4 separate regions of the Homo sapiens genome follow, and regions 2, 3 and 4 are each linked to region 1. Evidence: promoter capture Hi-C in human tissues and cell types (Jung and others, 2019). All regions are on one chromosome and are shown on one strand. Each heading gives the region's core, a stretch centred on a gene start or on the middle of the fragment in contact. The rest is flanking DNA. Distances are from core to core; before and after follow the strand shown.

Region 1 (2,700 bases), core at 84-2,583:
TTTAACAATGGAATTTTGAAACTTTCTGATTTTTTTTTCTATTATCTTGGCACCATATTTGGCCAAATTCTTACAAACTGGCTAAGGTGAACAAGTGAATTGTTTCATAAAGGATGAAGTGAGGCGTGGGCCCTCACACATTCAAGGGCAGCCCCAAGGTAACCACAGGTAGACCCATGAGCTGCAACGACCATGCTGACCTATGAATCATGGAAATATAGTTGCCACAATTAATGCCTAAAACAAAATTTTAATATAAATTGCTAAAATGAGTCATTAATCTAAGCAGCATGATACAATTGAAAGAGCACAAATGAAATCTGTTAAATCTGTTAAGGGAACGGGAGAAAGCCCAGGAACACATTTATAGTGGTTCATACGGTTTTATGACAGTCACTTAAATAAGGTTTTGGAAACGAAAATGTTGTTAATTATTGCAGGGCGCGGTGGCTCATGCCTGTAATCCCGGCACTTTGGGAGGCCGAGGCGGGCAGATCACGTGGTCAGGAATTCGAGACCAGCCTGGCCAACACAGTGAAACCCCGTCTCTACTAAAAATACAAAAATTAGCCCGGCATGGTGTCCCGCGCCTGTAGTCCCAGCTACTGAGGAGGCTGAGGCAGGAGAATCGCTTGAACCCGGAAGGCGAAGGTTGTGGTGAGCCGGGATCGCACCACTGCACTCCAGCCTGGGCAACAGAGCGAAATCCGTCAAAAAAAAAAAAAAAAAAAAAAGAAAGAAAAGAACAAAAACCTAGTTTATTACTGCTGTTTCCTTATTACCAGGTAGCTTCACATCCTCATCAGTTCAGCAAGTCAAAACTGCATTCTTAGAAAAAATTCTGGAAGTTGATAACTGAATGCAAATATAAAATGACCTGCCCAAGGTCACACAGTTAATCGGGACCGTATCCTGGTGTCGTGATTCCCATCGCAGAGCTCTCCCTTTTCCAGAAACTGGGTGGAGAGAGTGGCATGTGGTGTGGGCGTGGCACGGGTCGGCTCGGCAGAGTTCGCCCCGGGTGGAAAGGAATCTGCTCAGCCCCTTCAACGCCAGGCAGCCGCATGTGCTGCTGGGAAGGACCTTGGGCGCCCCAGTGTCTCATCCCCGGATGTCCGCGCGCCGCCACCTCCCCGCTCTGCACCCTCCGCCATCTCCCCTCTCTGCACCGTCCGCCATCTCCCCGCGCCCCGCGTGCGTGGAATCTACGTTACCTTTTCCAAGGTTCCGCTCATCCTTTGCTGCTGCGCGGCCTCTAGCTGTGCAAACCGAAGACCGGACCCTGCAGCCGCGTTCCCAGGGCGTCTGAAAACACTGAAGGAACGGCCTTGACCAGGTGCAGCAGCAATATCCCACCGAGACTCACTCAACTTCCACATCATTTTAGTTCCGGAAGCTTCTGAAATTCAGAGTCTAGAAATTCTCCTGCTTTCCACCCTCACTCAGGTTGTCACATTCACTGCTGTTTCTCCAGAAAGAATTAATTACCATCTCTGTGTTACCCCAGTACTTAGCACACAATTCTAATTTTTCGCTTACAATATTATACACTAATGATTTGTTACCACCTCTTCTCTGTATTTGAAAGTTCTTAAAAGACTGAGATCCTGTCTGATTAATTCCTTTCAGCGTCTAGCACAGATCTGACTTTTTTGTTTGTTTGAGACGGAGTCTCGCTCTGTTGCGCAGGCTGGAGTGTAGTGGCACGATCTCAGCTCACTGCCACCTCCGCCTCTCGGGTTCAAGCAATTCTGTCTCCAAGTAGCTGGGATTACAGGTGCCCGCCACCACGCCCGCCTAATTTTTATATTTTTACTAGAGATGAGGTTTCTCCATGTTTGTCAGGCTGGTCTTGAACTCCCGACCTCAGGTGATCCGCCCGCCTCGGCCTCCTAAAGTGCTGGGATTACAAGCGTGAGCCACCAGGCCCAGCCAATCATCTCTTAAATTGAGTTTAGAAGTCAGATTTCCACGTCCTGTGCTAGATGCTGGAATAAATTAGTCAGGATCTCAGTCCTTGAGGAACTCAATCAAAATAATAGCAAAAAATAATTAGTATCTAGTAACAAATAATTAGTATCTAGTATGGTAAGTGAAATACCAGAATTGTGTGCAAAGTACTGAGGTAACACAGATACGACAATTAATTATGCTTGGAAATATAATGGACCAGGCATACCTCCTCCAGTACAGTGATTGATTATTGCCTAATAAATGCTATTGGGGTTTTAGAAGTGAAATTTTAAATAAGAAAAAAAAAATCAATCAAATGCTAGTATGTGCCAGGTCGGTTCTTTATGGGTGTATGGGTTCATTTAGTCTTTCCAATAACCCTATGAGGCTGAGGATCATTATACCCATTTCACAGATGAGGAACAGAGACAGGAAGAAGGTACCTAGTTAACATAATGTTATATAAGTGGTGAGCTGTTTCATTTCCGTGCCTGTGCTTCATCTATTTTATGGGACTGTGACTATAGGTTTGCAAAAGGGCAGGTTGGCAGCCAGAGAGTTTCTTTCCTTGTCTAGTCCAGGTAAATACAATCTAATAAGATACATGGCCGGGTGCGGTGGCTCATGCCTGTAATCCCAGCACTTTGGGAGGCCAAGGCAGGCGGATCACAAGGTCGGGAGTTTGAGACCAGCCTGACCAAAACTGTGAAACTCCGTCTCTACTAAAAATACAAAAATTAGCTGGGC
Region 2 (2,700 bases), core at 16-2,515, 150 kb before region 1:
AGGGAAAAAGGAGTGCTGTGTTTAAAATCTCATCTCTCCTCGCTCTCCCTCTCCCGTCTCCCTCTCCCTCTCCCGTCTCCCTCTCCCTCTCCCTCTCCCTCTCCCGTCTCCCTCTCCCTCTCCTTTCCACGGTCTCCCTCTCATGCCGGGCCAAAGCTGGACTGTACTGCTGCCATCTCGGCTCGCTGCAGCCTCCCTGCCTGATTCTCCTGCCTCAGCCTGCCGAGTGCCTGCGATTGCAGGCGCGCGCCGCCACGCCTGACTGGTTTTCGTGTTTTTTTGGTGGGGACAGGGTTTCGCTGTGTTGGCCGGACTGGTCTCCAGCTCCTAGCCGCGAGTGTTCCGCCAGCCTCGGCCTCCCGAGGTGCCGGGATTGCAGACGGAGTCTCATTCACTCAGTGCTCAATGGTGCCCAGGCTGGAGTGCAGTGGCATGATCTCGGCTCGCTACGGCCTCCACCTCCCAGCCGCCTGCCTTGGCCCCCCAAAGTGCGGAGATTGCAGCCTCTGCCCGGCCGCCACCCCATCTGGGAAGTGAGGAGCGTCTCTGCCTGGCTGCCCATCGTCTGGGATGTGAGGAGCCCCTCTGCCTGGCTGCCGAGTCTGGAAAGTGAGGAGCGTCTCTGCCCAGCCGCCATCCCACCTGGGAAGTGAGGAGCACCTCGTCCCGGCCGCCATCCCATCTAGGAAGTGAGGAGCGTCTCTGCCCGGCAGCCCATCGTCTGAGATGTGGAGAGCGCCTCTGCCCCGCCGCCTCATCTGGGATGTGAGGAGCGCCTCGGCCCGGCCGCGACCCCGTCTGGGAGGTGAGGAGCGTCTCTGCCCGGCCGCCCCGTCTGAGAAGTGAGGAGACCCTCCGCCTGGCAACCGCCCCGTCTGAGAAGTGAGGAGCCCCTCCGCCTGGCTGCCACCCCGTCTGGGAAGTGAGGAGCGTCTCCGCCCGGCAGCCACCCCGTCCGGGAGGGAGGTGGGGGTCAGCCCCCCACCCGGCCAGCCGCCCCGTCCGGGAGGGAGGTGGGGGGCTCTGCCCCCCGCCCGGCCAGCCGCCCCGTCTGGGAGGTGAGGGGCGCCTCTGCCCGGCCGCCCCTACTGGGAAGTGAGGAGCCCCTCTGCCCAGCCAGGAGCCCCTCTGCCCAGCCAGCTGCCCCATCTGGGAGGGAGGTGGGGGGGTCAGCCCCCCGCCCGGCCAGCCGCCCCGTCCGGGAGGTGAGGGGCGCCTCTGCCCGGCCGCCCCTACTGGGAAGTGAGGAGCCCCTCTGCCCGGCCAGCTGCCCCGTCCGGGAGGGAGGTGGGGGAGTCAGCCCCCCGCCCGGCCAGCCGCCCCGTCCGGGAGGGAGGTGGGGGGGTCAGCCCCCTGCCCGGCCAGCCGCCCCGTCCGGGAGGTGAGGGGCGCCTCTGCCCGGCCGCCCCTACTGGGAAGTGAGGAGCCACTCTGCCCGGCCAGCCGCCCCATCCAGGAGGGAGGTGGGGGGCTCAGCCCCCTGCCCGGCCAGCCGCTCCGTCCGGGAGGGAGGTGGGGGGGTCAGCCCCCCACCCGGCCAGCCGCCCCGTCTGGGAGGGAGGTTGGGGGGTCAGCCCCCCGCCTGGCCAGCCACCCGGTCCGGGAGCTGAGGGGCGCCTCTGCCCGGCTGCCCCTACTGGGAAGTGAGGAGCCCCTCTGCCCGGCCACCACCCCGTCTGGGAGGTGTACCCAACAGCTCATTGAGAATGGGCCATGATGACGATGGCGGTTTTCTGGAATAGAAAAGGGGGCAAGGTGGGGAAAAGATTGAGAAATCGGATGGTTGCCGTGTCTGTGTAGAAAGAAGTAGACATGGGAGAATTTTCATTTTGTTCTGTACTAAGAAAAATTCTTCTGCCTTGGGATCTTGTTGATCTATGACCTTACCCCCAACCCTGTGCTCTCTGAAACATGTGCTGTGTCCACTCAGGGTTAAATGGATTAAGGGCGGTGCAAGATGTGCTTTGTTAAACAGATGCTTGAAGGCAGCATGCTCCTTAAGAGTCATCACCACTCCCTAATCTCAAGTACCCAGGGACACAAACACTCTGCCTAGGAAAACCAGAGACCTTTGTTCACTTGTTTGTCTGCTGACCTTCCCTCCACTAGTGTCCTATGACCCTGCCAAATCCCCCTCTGTGAGAAACACCCAAGAATGATCAATTAAAAAAAAAATAAAATTAAAAAGAAAAAAAAAAAAAAAGAAAAAAGAAAAAAGTCCTCCCATAAGGAAAGATGATCAATTCTTATGTATCGTTCTAGGGATATAAATATTCAGGAGGCTTTTCAGAATAAAAGTTAAATCATTTAAAAAAAAAAAAAGAAATAAACTTACTTGAATTAAAAAAACAAACAAAAAAAATCTCATCTCTAACTGCAGAAGGAAAAGCTTGGTTCCCTGATGGCATTTCAGATACTAGTGCCTAAGATATTGAAGAACTTTCCTGGGTCTCTGAAACCACACTGTTACAGAGGATGGCCTGCCTTGAAGTAGCTCTTTCATATTATTTGAGGCAAAAGGCTTACTTTAGGTGTATTTGGAGTAAGTAAAACACGCTTTTGGAGGTGGGCCAAAGGACAGAAAAGTCAATTAAAGAGCTAAAAAATAAACTGCAAGTTTTGGGTAAATTGAGTGGTCAGAAAGTGACCAAATCTTCATGCTGCCGAGCTCACCTGCCAGTTGTATGACTTGAAGCAAGC
Region 3 (2,700 bases), core at 92-2,591, 210 kb after region 1:
ACTCTCATGTAGCTTTCCTTTACTCTTTGCCCATAGCTGGGTCAGTGGAGCTGTGTACACAGTAGACACAATGAGACTCAGAAAGAACTTGATTTATGACGGATCCCTGGAATCTCACTTGGAATGAATGCAGATCACATTGGTAAATGGAGAAGACGGGACCTTATGATTGCTTTTCTGACTCAGTCTAGAGTTCTTTTTTCTGCTTCAAAGTTTCCTCTTTATTAACCTTTGGTCAGTTTTAATTTGTAGATAATATAAAATGAATGCTATAAAACCAAATTGTATCAAATGCTTGTGTATTTGATTTTTACAACTGAAATATAAGACTTGACTTAACTATTTGATGGTAGAAAGATTGAGACTTTAAGAAATGTGGGTTTTTAATTACCCTATTAAGCCATTAGTAGTTTCTGGCAGGCAATTTTTTTTTTCCCCAGGCTGGAGTGCAATGGCACCATCTCGACTCACTGCAAGCTCCGCCTCCTGGGTTCATGCCAATCTCCTGCCTCAGCCTCCCGAGTAGCTGGGACTACAGGTGTGTGCCTCCACGCCTGGCTAATTTTTTTTGTATTTTTAGTAGAGATGGGGTTTCACTGTGTTAGCCGGGATGGTATCGATCTCCTGACCTCGTGATCCACCCACCTTGGCCTCCCAAAGTGCTGGGATTACAGGCATGAGTCACGGTGCCCGGCCTCTGGCAGGCAATTTTAATTAGGATTCCCCAAAATATTTTGCTGATTAGAGTCTTTGTAGCAAGCAAAAATAATCACTTATGCATCTATGCATTATTTTAGTCAACATGGATATCAGCCTCTATGTTAGGTTGGTTTTGATGATACACGGAGATGAGTAAGGTGTAGTTGCTGTCTTCAAGGAGCTCCAGATGCAATAGAGACAAGGTATAAACAAATAAGTTGGCTGGGTGCGGTGGCTCATGCCTGTAATCCCAGCACTTTGGGAGGCCGAGGTGGGCGGATCACAAGGTCAGGAGTTTGAGACCATCCTGGCCAACGTGGTGAAACCTCGTCTCTACTAAAAATACAAAAATTAGCTGGGCATGGTGGCGCATGCCTGTAGTCCCAGCTACTCAGGAGGCTGAGGCAGGATAATCGCTTGAACCCGGGAGGCAGAGTTTGCAGCGAGGCGAGATTGCGCCACTGCACTCCAGCCTGGGCAATAGAGGGAGACTCCATCTCAAAAAAAAAACAAAAACCAAGTTACAGTTCAATGTTATAGATGTTATAAAATAAGTAGCAGAGACAGGGTATTCAAACCTTTTTTTAGGGAAGAGTTCTTGGAGGAAGAGTAACCTGAGCTTATTTTTGAAAGAAGACTAGGTCTTATGTGTGGACAATTCTGGACATGGAGTCAGAAGAACTGAATTTGAACCCCAGCTTAGCCACTTACTAGCTGTCTGACTTGGACAGGTTGTTTAAGTACTCTGTGAATCTCAGTTTTTTCCCATGTAAAGTGGGGACAGTCATATCTATATCCACCTTTGAAATTCAATACATTTGAAAGAAGCTCATAAATGTGATATACAAGTATTCTGTTTTTTAGCTCATAAATGTGGTATACAAGTATTATATTCTGTTTTTTTCCAAGCCAAACTGTATCCAGCTTTATTAAAGATACTGTCCGTAAACAATCATGGCATTTCAGACAGGACATGTGCAGACAATCGTTAACAGTATACAACAACTTTCAAACTCCCTTCTTTAATGGCCTACCAAAAATCAGAAAGCCACTATAAAACCCAATGAAGTCTTCATCTGATGCTCTGAACAGGGAAAGTTTAGAGTGAGGGTTGACATTTCACATTTAGCATGTTGTTTAACAACTTTTCATAAGCTGACCCTGACTTTCAGGAAGTGAAGTGAAAGTGACAGAATTTACCTGAAGATCCACAATCTAGAAACGGAACCACTGCTCTTTTGACAGGTGCCATCTCAGTGGCATCACTGGAAAGTCCAGATTGCCTGACACACTGGTAACCAATGATTAGGGGTCAGGTCCCAACAGATGTCTGGGTTTAAGGGAGTTAAGTCTAGCTGAAAGGTAGAAAGGGAGAAGAGGACATAAAAACAAATTTGTTTTTCCATACCACAAAGCTTTTGTGCCAAGGTGGCCATGTGTGTCAAAGTCAGGGAATCCCTGCTCCTGGGAGCCAAGAGGAAGTCTCTCAAAACTGGAAGGGAAAGGTGTTTTCCCCACATCAATCCAGCTTTGGAGACATTTTATTAGTGACATAAGCCCCTTCCTCTCAAAACAACAAGGACATGTTCTGTGTGCTAACAACATAGCTTAAAAAAGTAAAACAAAATTCTGCATTTTTATAAAACTTGATTAAAAATAGTATTTCAAACTGTACAGTCACCAGAAGTACATGGTTATTAAAAATGCACACACTTCGCTTGGCATCTCCAGCACCTTCAGCTTTCTGTCCCTGGTCTGTTTTGGCATCTCCATTTTCTGTAGGGTTATCCCCATCCTGGCCAGCCTCAGCTTTTCCCTTTTTCCCTTTGGGTACCTTCTCTCCCTTCTTTGCAGGGGCTTTTTTGGCCTGGGCTCTATCTTTGGAGGAGCAGGTTTAGCAGACAACCTTGTGGATCTTCTCTGTGGTTCATCCTTCACCTTGGCTTTATCTCCTTTAGCATCCCCTTCAGCCTTTCTTGGGCATGGTGGCGGCGACAGTGA
Region 4 (2,700 bases), core at 180-2,679, 210 kb before region 1:
AAGAGAAAAAACTAGAGCCTGTGCTAAAGAAGCCCTGCTGGGCCCATGTGAGGCTGGGGCTCGTAAATATTCCCTGACGACACTGAAGAATCAAGAGGGCAGCCCCCACTTTCCTACAAAATGGAGGGAGCCATCCCTTCCCTGTCCACCTCACCAGGGGTGCTATGACATGCAAGTGAGAAGCTGGGCATGAACGCACTTTATAAAAGCAAAAGCTCTGTGTAAATCTAACTACAAGGACAATGCCTTGGGAGAGATTTTGTCGGGACAGAGAGGAGTTGCCAGGGAAGAAGGTTTGAAAGATACGGTTGTCTAGAGGTGAGACCAAAGGATCCAGAGACTTGGGGACCAGAGGTGACAGTGGATGACGTGAAGCCACAGGAGCCCCACCCCCATGCAGCCTCTTCCCCACCCCCCCCACCACGTGCTCAATCATGAGTACCTCAAAGGATTGTTGGGCTTGGGGGAAAAGAGGTGGATTCCTGGGCAAGAACCTAAAGTAGCAGGACTCGGAATTCTCGGGAAATTATTATGACTCAATAAAAGAATTCACACCTTAGGTGTGGGAGTAAGAACAGCCACTTCTCTGCCTTTTCTTTCTTGGAATTTTCCTTTCTCACTTCTATTTCAGGCTTTCTATGTGTCAGGGCAGGGCCAGATCCAGCCCCACATGCCTACACTTCATCTGCCCCCTCTCACCCTGTTTAATTGCAGGCAAGTAGCTTTATTTTTTTAGGGTTCCAGCTCCTGCTTCTGCAAAAGGCAGGGTTGAACCAGACGACCGACTTCCAAGCTTAAGACTGTACATTTTTCGAATTGATAATGGGGACCCAAAATGCCACTATCTTTTTCTACTTCTTGGCAGCCTTGCGTAGCTCTGATGATTGTCAGGACTGGGTTCAAACCTCACCCCATTCTACCTTACTAACCACCTAGCCACAGGGAATCCTTGCACCTTGGTGTGCTACCAGAGAAGTGGGAATAACAATCGCTGCTTCACAGGCTTGTTGTGAGGGTTGACCTAAAACTCCTTGGAAAGCAGACATGTGGTGTGCACCTGCTACCTGGGAGGCTTAAGCGAGAGGACTGCTTGAGCCCAGGAGTTCAGGGCTGCAGTGAGCCATGACTGCACCTGTGAATAATGACTGCACTCCAGCCTTGGCAACAGAGCATAACTCCTTCTCTGAAACAAAACAAACAAAAAATCGTTGGCATACAGGAGGCACTCGGTAATGTCATTTCCCTGCTTCCCTGCTCCTACCCCTCCAGACCCTGGGAAAAAGCAAATATCTATTCATCCTCAGCACTTTCCTAAATTTAAATTATAACTTGAGATCATCTATGTATACAAACTGGAGAGTTCATACAAAAGCAAAAAAAAATTATTTTGATTTAATGTCTGGCTTGGTTTTCAAATAAAACCCATATTTTGAAAAGTTTCCGGTTGGTGCAGTGGCTCACGCCTTTGGGAGGCCGAGGCGGGCGGATCACTTGAGGTCAAGAGTTTGAGACCAGCCTGGCCAACATGGTGAAACTCTGTCTCTACTAAAAATACCAAAAAAAAAAAAAAAAATTACCCAGGCATGGTGGTGGGTGCCTGTAATCCTAGCTACTCGGGAGGCTGAGGCAAGAGAATCACTCGAACCCAGGAGACTGAGGTTGCAGTGAGCCAAAACCACACCACTGCACTCCAGCCTAGGCGAGACTCTGTCTCAAAAAAAAAAATTAAATTGAATTGAATTAAATTAAAAGTTTCCCTTTTTAGCCAGGCATGGTGACATGTGCCTGCGGTCCCAGCTACTCGGGGGGCTCAGGTGGGAGGATCACTTGAGCCCAGGAGGCGGAGGTTGCAGTGAGCCGAGCTTACACCACTGCACCCTAGCCTAGGTGACAGAGTGAGACCCCATCTCAAAAAACAAAAACGAAAAAAGAAAAAAGAGTTTCTCTTTCTTTTGACTTGACTGACATGTGCAAATCACTCTCAAACTCCTGGTCTCAGTTTGTAAGTTTCTAGGGCCAGGAACTATATCTTCCATGAATTTCCATATGGCAATATTAACACACCACCTACCCAGAGGATGCTATTCAGGTGATGATTCTGAGAAAGGGAGGATAAAATATTCTAAGAGATATTTTGACTGGGATCAGGAGCCTACTAACTGCCAAGTCTAGCCTTTTGGAGAAAGAAAAACGAGATTGGTGAGTCTTGTGAGGTTTCTAGGCCAAAATACTAGATCTCTTTCTCCACTGTTTTTTTTTTTTTTTTTTTTTTTTTTGAGTCAAAGTCTTGCTCTGTGCCCAGGCTAACACAATCTTGGCTCACAGCAACATCCACCTCCCAGGTTCAAGTAATTCTCCTGCCTCAGACTCTCGAGTAGCTGGGACTACAGGTGCGTGCCACCACACTCTGGCTAGTTTTTGTATTTTTAGTAAAGATGGGGTTTTCACTGTGTTGACCAGGCTGGTCTCAAACTCCTGACCTCAGATGATCCACCCACCTCAGCCTCCCAAAGTGCTGGGATTACAGGCGTGAGCCACTGCTCCCAGTCTCTTTCCCCACTTCTTAAAGGCAGAGATTCAACCAGATGACCTGAAGCTCTTTAGTTCTGTGATTCCAAGGACTGAGAGACAGTTTCTCCCAGGCTACGGTGTGAACACCTTTTCAACGCTGGCCTCAATTTATGCTTCCAGGAAACCAGG

Evidence for each region. The method cuts DNA at HindIII sites, captures the fragments that hold promoters and counts their contacts. A contact is called where the count stands out against the background at its distance.
Region 2: a fragment that was not itself captured here is called in contact with the fragment with the promoter of MRPL48 in region 1 in 2 of the 25 tissues and cell types used here (H1 embryonic stem cells and mesenchymal stem cells).
Region 3: a contact is called between a fragment that was not itself captured here and the fragment with the promoter of MRPL48 in region 1, in 1 of the 25 tissues and cell types used here (hippocampus).
Region 4: a fragment that was not itself captured here is called in contact with the fragment with the promoter of MRPL48 in region 1 in 1 of the 25 tissues and cell types used here (thymus).

What each region holds. Positions count from the first base shown.
Region 1 is chr11:73,786,507-73,789,206 of GRCh38, reverse strand. It overlaps MRPL48 (mitochondrial ribosomal protein L48), which reads right to left and starts at 1,333. Exons shown (of 8, transcript NM_016055.6): 1 at 1,215-1,333. The coding sequence starts at 1,235. RefSeq lists enhancers at 1,120-1,199, 1,340-1,399. The HindIII fragment of the contact is 15,089 bases long and covers 1-2,700 here.
Region 2 is chr11:73,935,090-73,937,789 of GRCh38, reverse strand. No RefSeq gene overlaps it. Among named protein-coding and RNA genes, the nearest start is that of DNAJB13, 15 kb to the left of the region's middle. RefSeq lists an enhancer at 361-995. The HindIII fragment of the contact is 5,193 bases long and covers 1-2,700 here.
Region 3 is chr11:73,580,236-73,582,935 of GRCh38, reverse strand. The region is part of intron 1 of FAM168A (family with sequence similarity 168 member A); the gene reads left to right. It also overlaps the pseudogene HMGN2P38. Among named protein-coding and RNA genes, the nearest start is that of FAM168A, 17 kb to the left of the region's middle. The HindIII fragment of the contact is 9,693 bases long and covers 1-2,700 here.
Region 4 is chr11:73,998,158-74,000,857 of GRCh38, reverse strand. UCP3 (uncoupling protein 3) reads left to right here. Exons shown (of 7, transcript NM_003356.4): 7 at 1-581. Among named protein-coding and RNA genes, the nearest start is that of UCP3, 9.6 kb to the left of the region's middle. The HindIII fragment of the contact is 6,388 bases long and covers 1-2,700 here.